2 separate regions of the Homo sapiens genome follow, and region 1 is linked to region 2. Evidence: promoter capture Hi-C in 16 types of primary human blood cells and fetal thymus (Javierre and others, 2016). All regions are on one chromosome and are shown on one strand. Each heading gives the region's core, a stretch centred on a gene start or on the middle of the fragment in contact. The rest is flanking DNA. Distances are from core to core; before and after follow the strand shown. Region 1 overlaps ZNF664-RFLNA (ZNF664-RFLNA readthrough). Region 2 holds the start of PRKAB1 (protein kinase AMP-activated non-catalytic subunit beta 1).

Region 1 (6,454 bases), core at 1,663-4,162, 4.3 Mb before region 2:
TGAAAGGGCACCACTCTGCCTATTTCCTGGCCTGCCCCTACGTGGAAGGGACCAGTTTACCAAGATGAAGAGAAATCACTCCCAGAAGTCAGGTGTACTCTGACAACAGGATGACTGACAAAAGGACCACTAATGCCCAGAGGAACCTCCACCACCCACTCAGAGAGGCAAGAGTCTACCCAATGAACCCCAAAGACAATCATGGTATTATCTGAAGTCGAGGTCATGCAGTCTCAAATAATTCTATGTGAAAAATATCAATGGTCCAGTCTATCTAGACAGATATGCCCCAATTTACAGAAGTACAACTATATTGCAAGAAAAATTTACCATGTAGAAATATTGATTTTAATACCATAGCTATGTATAGTATCTAGTCATTCTTACAGCAAAACATGTGTACTGTAAAATTATTCTTTGTAAATCCTCTTCGTGACACACCTATGTGTCCTATAAGACCTTCAAACTCAAGTACATCCAAAACTGAATCAGTCACTTCCTCACCAAAGCCTACTATATTCCTGTCTTAATCTGTTTTCTATTGCTTACAAGAGAATACCTGAAACTGGATAATTTATGAAGAAATTTATCTCTTACAGTTATGGAGGCTGAAAAAGCCCAGGACCACATCTGGTGACAGCTCTCCTGCTGGTGGGGACTCTCCAAAGAGCCCTGAGCCGGCACAGGGCATCACACGATGAGAGGGGGCTGAGCATGTTAACATGCTGTCTCAGATCTCTTTTCTTTTTATAAAGCCCCCAGGTCCCCTCCCATGACAACCCATTAATCTATGAATGGCTCTGCCCTCATGAGCCAAACCTCTGAAAGGCCCCACCTCTCAACACTGTCACATTGGGGATTAAGTTTCAACATGAGTTTTGGAGGGGACAAATATTCAAACCATAGCCAATTCCCAACTATAGTAAATGAGTCCACTCTCCCCTCAATTGCCCAAGTCAATATCATTGACTTCCCCCCATCACAAAGGTCTAGCCACTCTCTTCCAAATACCTCTGGAAACTCTCCACTGTGTACCTGCATTGTCTCAACTTAACTCAAGCCACCATCATCTTCCCTGGAATTCTACAAAAGCCTCCAGTCTTGCTTCCCTCTAATCCATTATCTACTCTAATGTAACCTTCTAAAATGCAAAATGGATTGTTCTTACCCTACTCACAAGTTTTCAATGGGTCCCAATCATTTTCAGTGTAAATTCCAAATTTATTCATTGGCTTTAACCAAAAAAAAAAGTGCTCATGTCTATTTGCCATGTAGCTATCATGTCCCAGATATACTTTGTTAAATCAAATGTTCCATCATACATGTAATACAGGTACATGTAATCTTGGCAAATACAAAAAAGATTATTTAAATCACCCGACATCCTACCGAATTCCACAATTCTTAAGATTTCCATCTAATTTCTTCTACATATTTTTGCCATTCATAGGTTTTACTGGAAGGCTGCTGGGACTTTTTTTGGGGCGTTTTCATCATATCAGGTATACAATTGTGTATCCTGATTTCCTTCCACTTAACACTATCATAAGCATTTTAATATATTTTCTTCATAAACGTTTTTAATGGCAATGTTATTTGCCACTAAATATATGATATAGGGGATGTATCATAACCATTCTGCAAACTGTGCCCATAAATATAATTCTACAATATACATATTTTGTGCAGAAAGCTTTTCTCTGTATTTAAAAATATTCTTTTGATGGTTCCTAGACCATCAAGAAATGTAAATAATTTTAAGACTCTTGACACATATGGCCAATGTAACATAAGAGTGTGTCATTTTTACCACATCCTTTTAGGTACTAGGCACTGTATATTTTTGTCTAAATCTAGACCTTCATGAAATTGGTGAGAAATTGTAACATCTTCCTTACAAAAGTAAATGCCCATTGTAAAAAAAACTGAAGCAATGCAAACACATGTGATATGAAAAACCAGTCTCCCCTAGGCTTTTCCCATGAAGTAATCAGAATTAAATGTTTTCAGGTATTCTAGTCTTTTTCTAATTCTTATTCAGAATATATATATATACACACACTCACCCTTCATTATTTTGTTTTGTATCTTACAAAAAATGAGATTAAGCTTGCTTTTTTGGCTCAACAGTATATTCTAGACATCCATACAGGCTATGTCAGTACATACAAATCTACCTCTCTATATAAAAAACTAATAGGCTAGACATGGTGGCTCATGCCTGTAATCCCAACACTTTGGGAGGCCAAGGCGGGAGGATCACTTGAGGCCAGGAGTTCAAGACTGGCCTGGGTAACGTGGTGAGACTCCGTCTCTACAAAAAAAATTTAAAAATCAGCCAGGTGTAGTGGTGTGTGTGTGTGTGTGTGGTCCCAGCTACTTGAGAGGCTGAGGCAGATCACTTGAGCCCAGGAGGCTGAGGCTACACTGAACCACATTCCGTACCACTGCACTCCAGCCTAGGCAACAGAGCAAGACCCTGTCTCAAAACAAAACAAACAAAAAATCCCACAAAAAACAAAACGCTACTTGATATTCCACAGTATATGGGTACCAAAATTTATTGTGATTATCTTCAATTTTTCATTATAAATGACGCTGCAATAGACATTGTTTATATTAACGTATGTTCTCCTATGAAAATAGCACAGATTCCTTGAAGTGTAGCTGCTAAATCAACGTGTACTTTTATTTTGATAAAATTCTGCCAAAATTGCCATCTAAAAACTTGGAAAAATTTTATGTCCCAACAATGTATTAGGTGCCTCTTTTACATCGCTGGATAGTTTTTAATTTTTGCCTGATGCCCTCCTCCCAACAAAAAAATCTAGTTTTTAAATTTCCATTCTCTTAATCACAATGAGGTTGAATTTCTCTTCACTGTTTGAACACATTTATCTAAGAACTATTCATATCCTCAATTCATTACCTAATTTGTTAATTCTATTTATTCTTTATACATGCTACAGGTTGTTTTCCCAGTCTGTCACTCTGTAACGCTTTTTGTCACAGAATTATCAACTGTGATTATAGTCAAATTTATCAATCCTTTCATTTATGATTTTAGGTCTTGGTCTTACCTAAATGGCCTACCTAAAACACATCATTTCCAGTGTATCCTTCTACATAACAAATTCTCTTATATTTCCTTCTAATGCTTTTATAGGTTTTTTTAGTTAGTTCCTTAATCCATCTAAGTTATTTTGAATGTGAAGTAGGATCTTTCTTTCTAAATAAAGAGCCACTTATCCCTATACAACACACTGAATTATAATTTCCCAACTGTTGCAAAACACCAACTTTATCATATACTAAATTCTGATATAAAAATGGGTCTGTTACTGGATTCTACTTTGCTCCAGGCGTCAATCTGTCTATTCTTGTGTTCACCATTTATATTACTGCAGCATTTCAGTATGCTTTGACTTCTCATATAGCAAATCCCCCAACACTACTTTTCCATTAAAAACGTTTGTCATTTTTTGGCCATTCTAGGACATTTACTCCTATAAAAGAGTTTTAGAAGCAATTTATCTAGTGTCCAGAAGAATTCCCACTGGGATTTCAATTGTAATTACATTGAAATCATAGTTTAATTTGGAGGTACTGCAATCTACAATGATGCCTTCCCCTCCAGGAACAAGTCTGCCCATTTATTTAGGTTAGCTTTTAAATCATTTAGGTAAAAGTTTTTACTTCTCTTCATAAAGCTTTGGTACATTTATGTCTTACTTGTAAATGTTTTCTAGTTTTGCTGCTATTCAGAACAGAATCTAACTTTTCTATACGGTAATTAGTGATTTGATTATTAATGAATTACACAGCTTTTCCAATGTTTCACAAGTTATATTTCTATCCAGCGAACTGTCTATTCACATCCTATAACCACCTGTGTGTGGATCTTCATTATTTTCTTCACCAATTTGGATGAGTTCTTTGCATATTGAAAATACTAACTCTTAGCTTATCATTTGCCACAAATATTTTCCACTTTATGATTCGGGTTTTTTTTTTCCCTTCTCTTCCTAAAGAATAAATTTTTATGTAGTCTAATACACTAATTTTTAATTATTATTTTCTCTATTGTTTCTAATAGCAGCAGCTACTTACAGATTTGAGTGCCCTGTAGGTGCCTGGCCCTTTATCTCTTACTCTCATAACACCTGCAAAGTGGGGATAATTTTCCTCACTTAAAAGATTCCAGTTTAGACACATCTGAGTCTAAAGCATGTGCTCCATCCACCTTAGCATGTAAAACTCCTCTTTCCAGATGTTTAATATTTACTTACATTTTCTTTAGACTCAGGGGGCATTTGTGATGATTTCATTATTATTTATGACATTTCCATATAAAAAAGTTTATTTCTGGGGTGCTGAATAAGTTCCATTGACCTGTATGGATATTTTACAGCCAGAACGATACTGTTTTAATGAATGTGGCTCTATAATATGTTTAAATATATTTGTCTCACCTCATTACTCATAAGTATTCTACCACGTTCACCCCAAAATGAGCATCTCCATAACATGCAGACATCACAGCCCGGAAGATGGCCTCTCTTTCCGTTCAAGGTACCCCTTCAGACCTTTCAGGATACTTTATGGTCTCCTCCACAGAGTGCACACTTGACTCTATAAGGTTGTGCCTACACGGTTCACTTGTTTTGCTGCAACCTGGTCAGAGCCAGTTTCTTGTTTAGGGTTTTTTTTTTTTTTTTTTGGCCATTTTAGGTTCTAGTAGGTTATTTCTGGTATTCAGAAAGCTATTAATTTTATACATATACTAATACATGGTCACTCCATCAATTTTTTTGTCTAATAATTTTTGTTATTGTTTTCATAGTCAATAGCATCTACAAATATTTCCCTTCATTTTAGAGCCTCACTTCACTCCTATCTCACATATTACCGCTTTGTCAAAACATACAAACCTTGTTAAATAATGTCCCAATTTTTAATTTGACTCTCTGATACTTTTAAGTATAGACAACTAGTTTAACATTTATGTGTACTTTTTGCATACCAAGTACCTTTTTATTGCTTTTATTTATCCCCACTTCTTAAAAATTAGAAACAAGGATTTGTGGGGGTTTTGTTTGTTTTGTGAGACAGTCTCCCTCTGTTGCCCAGGCTGGAGTGCAGTGGCATGATCTCCGCTCACTGCAAGCTCCACCTCCCGGGTTCACGCCATTCTCCTGCCTCAGCCTCCCGAGTAGCTGGGAATACGGGTGCCTGCCACCACGCCCAGCTAATTTTTTGTATTTTTAGTAGAGACAGGGTTTCACCGTGTTAGCCAGGATGGTCTCGGTCTCCTGACCTCATGATCCACCTGCCTCCCAAAGTGCTGGGATTACAGGTGTGAGCCACTGTGCATGGCCAGGATCTTTTTTTTTTTTAATCAAACATTGATTTGACCTTAGTGTAGCTGGTAACGTGAGGTCAATGTGAATTCCAAGGGAAAGCTCACGTCTCTTCCAGGCAGCCCTCTGAGATGGCCAACCTGGTCTCCCCACTTCTACTCTCCACCCCCAACACGCCCCCACATCTTGCATGCAACGACTAGAGTGGCTGTTTAAAGATACAAATCTGATTATGTCACTCCTCTTCGTAAATCCCAACCCATATCATGGTTTCCCATTTCACTCGGGATAAAATACAACCACTTTAACCTGCCCTACATGACCCTACTTGATCTGGCCCCTGGCCTAGCCACTCTTCCCCTTCACCTCCATAGTCTATCCACATTCATTCTTTCAGTTCCTGGAATGGGCAAAGCTTTTTCCCCACTTTGAGGCCTTCCCACATGCTGTTCCTCTGCCTGGAAAATTATCCCCCACTTTCCTCCACACTAACACCTACGCACTCTTCAAATCTCAGCTTAAATCTTATTTATACAGAAAAGTCTTTCCTAGGCCCCTTCTCTCCACTCTAAAATTTGGTCTCCCCTTTTTTATACTCCCTCATAGCAGGTGCTTCTTAACTTTCACAGCAGATACCAGTTTGTGATCATACGTGTAGTTGTGATTGTGTTTAAATTCCAATCCCCCTCACAAATCATAAGCTTCAAGAGAACAAAATAAGTTGATTTTGCTGGCCACACTACAGGCACTCATATATATCTGAAAGAAAGAAAAATACATAAAAAGCCCCTAATCGTATCTCATACATCTTAAAATGTTACCCATCACATCATTCAATCATTATTCAAATGATTAAAATATTAAATCTCAATATTAAAACTCTGATGCAGCCTGCAAATTTAGTAACAATCCCTTTTCCCTGAAGGACATAAAAGCTAATCTGAATCTGCTGCTGCCACAGAAAAATACATGTACAACTTACAACTCTAAGGAAATAAGCTTAAATATTATAGTGCGAGTATTGTCTAGTGTTCAGTTTGCTAATATGTTTATTCACAGTCAACTAATTTATATGCCTTATTTTTTAAGGTATG
Region 2 (6,311 bases), core at 470-2,969:
TGTAATCGCAGCACTTTGGGCGGCCCAGGCGGGCGGATCACTTGAGGTCAGGAGTTCAAGACCAACCTGGGCAACATGGCGAAACCCCACCTCTACCAAAAATACACAAAATTAGCCAGGCATGGTGGCACACGCCTGTAGTCCCAGCTACTCGGGAGGCTGAGGCAGGATGGTTTGAGTCCGGGAGACGAAGGTTGCAGTGCCCCGAGATTGTGCTACTGCCCTCCAGCCTGGGCAACAGAGTGAGACTCCATCTCAAAGAAGGAAAAAAAAAAAATAAGTAGGGTGGGTTCAGTGGCTCACGCCTGTAATCCCAGCACTTTGGGAGGCCGAGGCAGGCGGATCTCCTGAGGTCAGGAGATGGAGACCATCCTGGCTAACACGGTGAAACCCCGTCTCTACTAAAAATATAAAAAATTAGCCGGGCGTGGTGGCGGGTGCCTGTCGTCCCAGCTACTCGGGAGGCTGAGGCAGGAGAATGGCGTGAACCTAGGAGGCGGAGCTTGCAGTGAGCCGAGATCGCGCCACTGCACTCCAGCCTGGGCGACAGAGCGAGACTCGGTCTCAAAAAAAAAAAAAAGTAGGCTGAACCGGCCAGCACCGTAGCTCACGCCTGCGATCCCAGCACTTTGGGAGGCCAAGGCATAAAGATTGCTTGAACCCGGGAGTTCGAGACCAGCCTGGAGAACATTGTGAGACCACCGTCTTTTTTATTTTTATTTATATTTTTTTTTTGAGACGAAGTCTAGCTCTGTCGCCCAGGCTGGAGTGCAGTGGCGCGACCTCGGCTCACTGCAAGCTGCGCCTCCCGGGTTCACGCCATTCTCCTGCCTCAGCCTCCCGAGTAGCTGGGACCACAGGCGCCCGCCACCACGCCCGGCTAATTAGTGAGACCACCGTCTTTTAAAAAATAAGTAGGGTGAATCAAAAGTGTTGGGCAGAACTAAACACCTCTGGCAACTGCCGTCAGCTGTTCCGCTCTACTTTCAGCTTGTATATGTACCTGGTTTGCCTCCAAAATGGATAAATTCCCAAACTAACTTTTACAAAAGCTCCAGTTTGTGTAAAGGTGAGGGAATTTGTCTCAAAGCAGTGCAATTAATTACACCTAAGAGAAAAGCAGAAGCTGGGGCTCAATTACTGTTAGCTCGACTCTGAATTAATTAAGAATTTGAAACTCTGTCCCAGAGCTGCTTTCTCCTTAATGATGTTAAACCAAGTGAGCACCTCCTCCCTCAGGGTGACTTTCTCATATTGGTAATTAGACACAGGTTCTTGGACCGCTAAGAGAACTCTTACAGGACCATCTGGCTTTTAAGTGCACCGGGTAATGTACCACCTCCCTCTCCGTTCTGGTGTTTTTCGAAAGGATGTGACGGGAATCTAGTGGAGGGTTCCTCTCCTCAACATTAGTCAAGGGGAATCGGGTTCCTCCACACCGCTCGCACCTTGATTTCCTCGGAGTGGAAGAGGTCGGCGTCTTCGGGGCTGTCCATCAGGATCTTGGGCCTGTCCCCGTCCTTGGTGCCCCCCGAGCTGTCCCTCCGGGGCGTCTTATGGCCACCATGCCGCTCCAGCGCGGCGCGCTCACTGCTGGTATTGCCCATGATGGGGGTCTGCGGGGACACAGGGAAGGCGGACGGCGCCTCACTGCAGGAAAGGGACCCTGAGCAAGGGACTCCCGGAACCGCGGGTCCCAAGGAGCCTGCGGAAGGAGTCGGAGCACCAGGACACCACGCCCCTCGGGCCGGGAGCCGGTTCCGGCTGAGTCGGCAGGGTTGCCGAGCTCTCGCAATCGCGCTTTACCTGCCCAGGCAAGCCGCGGCAAGAACGCAAGGGGCGCGAAGATAAACCGACACTTTCCCAACCGCTTCACCACCCCTCAGCGACTTCCGCTTCCGGCGACTCCGTAAGTCGGCCCGGCCTAGGGCGTGGAGGTGGCGGCGGCCAGCTAAACGCGCGAGGCTATCTCGATTCCATTTCCGCTTCCGGTCTTGAGCGGTGCGGTAACAGGTGCCCCGGGCCGTCTCTGCAGGCCTCGGAGCGCGCAGTCGCAGTCAGCAGCCGGCCGCCCAGGGCCAGGCCCAGGACGAGGCGCTGCCGAGGGCCGGCAGGGGGCACCCCAGCGCGCGGGCAATCTGAGCCGTTCATGCGCTGGGCTGAATAATGCCATTTAGCTATCTTTGCTCACTTATAGTTGATTCTACACTCTGCAGCCAGAGGGATCTTTCTAAAATGCAAATCTGATTCAGAAACTCCACTTCTTAAAGCCCTTTTAATGCACGTGTTCTCACGCTTTACAGTGCATTAGGTTAACCTGGAGCGCTTGTTAAATGCATCCCCCACTGCAGACCTGCAGAATCATGATTTCTACAGATTAGGGTCGGGGGTGCAGGCAGTCTTGCAGGTATTTGAAAAAATGGCAGACCATAAGATCTCTGGAAATTTCTTATGTCTAGTAGGTTGGGGGTTGTAAAATGCTGGAGTTATTCGTGTATTTTTATTGAGTGTGCAATCTTTTGATAGGTAATTTTGCAAGATATCTTGTAATCACTTCGGAAACATCCTTCTGCATAAGATGCATTAGCGTTTGTCATTTACTCTGGTCAGTGCTTCAACAAGAAGTGCATACAAATACGGTAGTAAAATATTCTCATCTTCTCATTGTCAGTCATTGTCATATTTTGTGGGTTTTTTGGTGTGTGAATATCTCAAAATACTTTGCATTTGCCGGGTCAGGTCATGCATTTCACCCACTGAACATTTATTTAGTACCTAAAAAAGTACCAGACATTGTGCTAAGGAAATGAGGAACACAAGATGACTAAGATAAGGTTTCCTGGGGGGAATTCAGCAGTATGCATCAAAATTTAAAAATGCACCTTCATTTTGACACACAATTTTACTCCTAGGAAACTTGTGCAGAAATACACACATGAAAATTATTTACAAGCATTATCTACAAAATATTTACATGCAAAAATATATTCTAAGATGCACTTGTCACCCCCCATGCCCCCATATATTTTAATTTCTGAAACTGGATGCTTTTTACAATAATGGAATCTTACACTTGGTGAAATAAGGAAATGAAAAACTACAAAATCCTAAAAGTTGTTCAGTAGGAGAATGGCAAAATGAATGGAATACATTCATTTTGTAGAATACCAAGCAACTTTTAAAAAGGGAGAAACCATTTTTAGGTCACTATGGGGAAGTGTCTATGATATTGCAAGGTCCGGAAGCAAGTGAGAGAACAAGTTCAAGGGCAGGAGCTCTGAATTCAGCCTGGCCATGTTCAGATTCTGGCTTTACCATTTAGTAACTGTCACCTTAGTCTCTTCTTTTGTGAAATGGGAACAAAAATAACACCTACTTCATAGGCTTGTTTTGTGAATTAATTGGGAACGTGCATAAAAATGCTGAGCATAGCACTTGACTCTTAGTAAACACTCAATAACTGTTAACACTTTTATTAGCACTATTAGGCTAGCAAATGGAAAGTTCTGGAAGGGTATACAACACATTGTTAATAGTGGTCTTCTGTGGGGAGAGGAGGGAGATTGCAAATAGGAGCAGACAGAAAAGGGACTTTCACTTTTCATTTATATAGTTCTGTATTTGAAAAGTTTTCTATTGTGAGGATGTACTACTTTTTAATTTAAAAAAATAAGATATGGTTCCAGCCCCAAAGGAATTAATACAGTACAGGCTGGCACCGACCCACAGAAAAGCAATAATATAGCTAGGTAAGGGATCCTGTGGGAGCCCAGAAGGGACTTAAGCCAGGCCAGGAAAAGGGATGGGAGCCAGGAAAAGGGATGGGAGCCAGGAGGGTCTTCCTGAAGCTGATGACTGAGAATTTGAATGTATTCAGTATAATCAGAAATGTTGAATGTGCTTGCTGAATTAAATAAGCTAAGATACTGTGGATGACCCAGGATATCTTCTTTGAGCTGCTTTTCTAATAGTGGCCCTGACTTGGTTACATGAGACAGTGGGGTGTTGAGTTTTGAAATCTCTCCCAAACAGCCGGAGAGATAAGAAAGAACACATGAGCTGTGGATTCTTTATCTGAGCTATGCAGATGCTTTGATGCATGAAGAAAGTTTTAAGACATCTGCACTAGCTTGAATAAGATAACAGTGAAAGCATGGGTGGCCCTTGATGTCAAATACAATCAACAATATCCTGAGGATGCCACCAACTGCTGATTGGAAACTCTTACCACATTGTATCAAGATTTCATGACAAAGAAACTAACATTGGTATCTATCAGCTATTGACCCCATATTGAAAATCATGGGTAGGGTAGACTCGCCAATTACAAGTGTCTACTTGGGTCCCAGCTGTGTCTCTCTTGGGTCATTTTGTGTTACTTATCTGTGTAACAATGGTTTGTGACTTTCCTAAGCATCAGAGCGTCTCATCTTTCTCTGATTCTCTGCTGATATGGATGTCAGACCATTCCATCTTGGGGGCTGGAGGTGTGCCAGGAAGTATAACTGTTAGCACATTGCTGTGTAAAAGGCATCATCTACTCACTGCTGTCTGTCTGGCACCAGGGCAAAGACAAATGATAAATACCCTAGATTCTCCCCCAAACAAACCAGGGCAATTTTAACACAGCCACAGCTAGGAGTACCCCTCCCCCACCCCCGCAACCCTGGCTTCAAATTCACTCCAGCTCCAAGCACAAAAAGAAGTAGGTTTTCAAGTCCTTAAAAGTCACCCAGAGTGAGATAAAATCTCATTTATCCTTAAATTTATGATTAAAAGGGTTAAGGATAATGTTTTGGGGCCTCCTCCATAGGATGGATTAGAATCAGTATAGCACTTCTGAACTGACCAACCCATTTGTTTTATATAAGGAAGAGTCTAAGTCCCAGAGATCGAACAGTTTTGCCTGAGGTCACTCAGATGATCATAGGTCATACTGAGACTGAATTCTGGATCACCTGGCCACTCCCCACTACATCATGGTCATGGCACCTCATCAAAAAGACCTTTGGTTCCCCAGCTGGCCTGTCTACAAACATTTGTACTGTTCTGAAGAACCCTCCCCATCTAAGAACAGCCAGGGCTCTGATCACAAATAACTCAATGGCAATATTGAGTGCCAATTATGAGCCAGGCACTGTTGTAACTCTTGGTTACAACAGTGAACAAAACCAAGTTCTTGCCCTCCAGAGGAAAGAGTCCACACACATATGCACATGTGGTGAGAACAGGCAGTGTTCTCACTAAACATCGGTAGCTGGAGGAAGAAATTTCACATTTGGACTATGCTGTAGACTAAATTGTATCCCCCCAAAATTCATACATTTGCACTCCCACTCCCAATTTTATAATGTTTGGAGGTGGGGCCTTCAAGGGGTAATTAGGGTTAGATGAGCTCATGAGAGTGGGGCCCCCATGATGAGATCAGGGTACTTATGGGAAGAAGAGACGCTGGAGAGCTTGCTCGCATGCTGTCTATTCACGCCCATGCTCAATGGAAAGGCCATGTGATGACAAAGCAAGAAGGCGGCCATCTGCAACTCAGGGAAAGAGCCCTCACCACACATCAACCATCCTGGCACCCTGATTGTATTAGGCCATTCTTGTATTGCTATAAAGAAATATTTGAGGTTGAGTAAGTTATAAAGAAAAGAGGTTTACTTGGCTTATGGTTCTGTAGGCTGTACAGCAAGCATGGCTCTGGGTATCTGCTTGCTTCTGGTGAGGCCTCAGGAAGCCAAGGGGGAGCCGATGTATTGATGTATCACATGGCAAGAGTGGGAGTAAGAAAAAAAGTGGGAGGAGGTGCCGCACGCTTTTAAACAACCAGATCTTGTGAGGGCAGCACCAAGACGATGGTGCTACACTATTCATGAGAAGTCCACCTCCATGATGCAGTCACCTCCCACCATGTTGGAGGCCTCACCTCCAACATGGGATTACATTTCAGTGTAAGATTTAGGGGGAAAAGTATCCAAATTATATCACTGATATTAGACTTCCAGCTTTCGGACCTGGGAGAAGTAAATCTCTGTTGTTTAAGCCACCCAGTTGATGATTTGTTATAGCAGTCTGAGCTGACTAAGACAGACTCAAATGTGTGTGGGCTGCTAGGATAGAATTACAAGCTTACTTTTAGGGCTTAACCAGATTTCCACCAGGCCTTCTGAATTTTGCCTAGCCAATGTAAGTAACACTGCCAATGTTTGAGAAACTTGTCCATCTTTTCTTGCTAGACATTCTTGTGTTCTCTTTGCACTGAGATGTGAATATTGTGACAGAGAGTCATCAACATAGAATTAAAAGAAGTT

Evidence for each region. Contacts are between HindIII fragments. The CHiCAGO score rates a contact against its expected background, and 5 or more counts as called.
Region 1: a fragment that was not itself captured here is called in contact with the fragment with the promoter of PRKAB1 in region 2 in 1 of 17 cell types (total B cells); the score reaches 5.3 in total B cells.

Annotation. Positions count from the first base shown.
Region 1 is chr12:123,975,729-123,982,182 of GRCh38, reverse strand. The region is part of intron 2 of ZNF664-RFLNA (ZNF664-RFLNA readthrough); the gene reads right to left. The region is part of intron 2 of ZNF664 (zinc finger protein 664); the gene reads right to left. Among named protein-coding and RNA genes, the nearest start is that of ZNF664-RFLNA, 5.7 kb to the right of the region's middle. The HindIII fragment of the contact is 1,601 bases long and covers 2,112-3,712 here.
Region 2 is chr12:119,663,541-119,669,851 of GRCh38, reverse strand. PRKAB1 (protein kinase AMP-activated non-catalytic subunit beta 1) reads right to left here and starts at 1,719. Exons shown (of 7, transcript NM_006253.5): 1 at 1,449-1,719. The coding sequence starts at 1,607. It overlaps PRKAB1-AS1 (PRKAB1, TMEM233 and CCDC60 antisense RNA 1), which reads left to right and starts at 1,725. Exons shown (of 3, transcript NR_188494.1): 1 at 1,725-1,909. RefSeq lists enhancers at 389-1,024, 1,463-1,872, 4,007-4,151, a silencer at 1,973-2,242 and a cis regulatory region at 4,070-4,087. The HindIII fragment of the contact is 11,826 bases long and covers 1-6,130 here.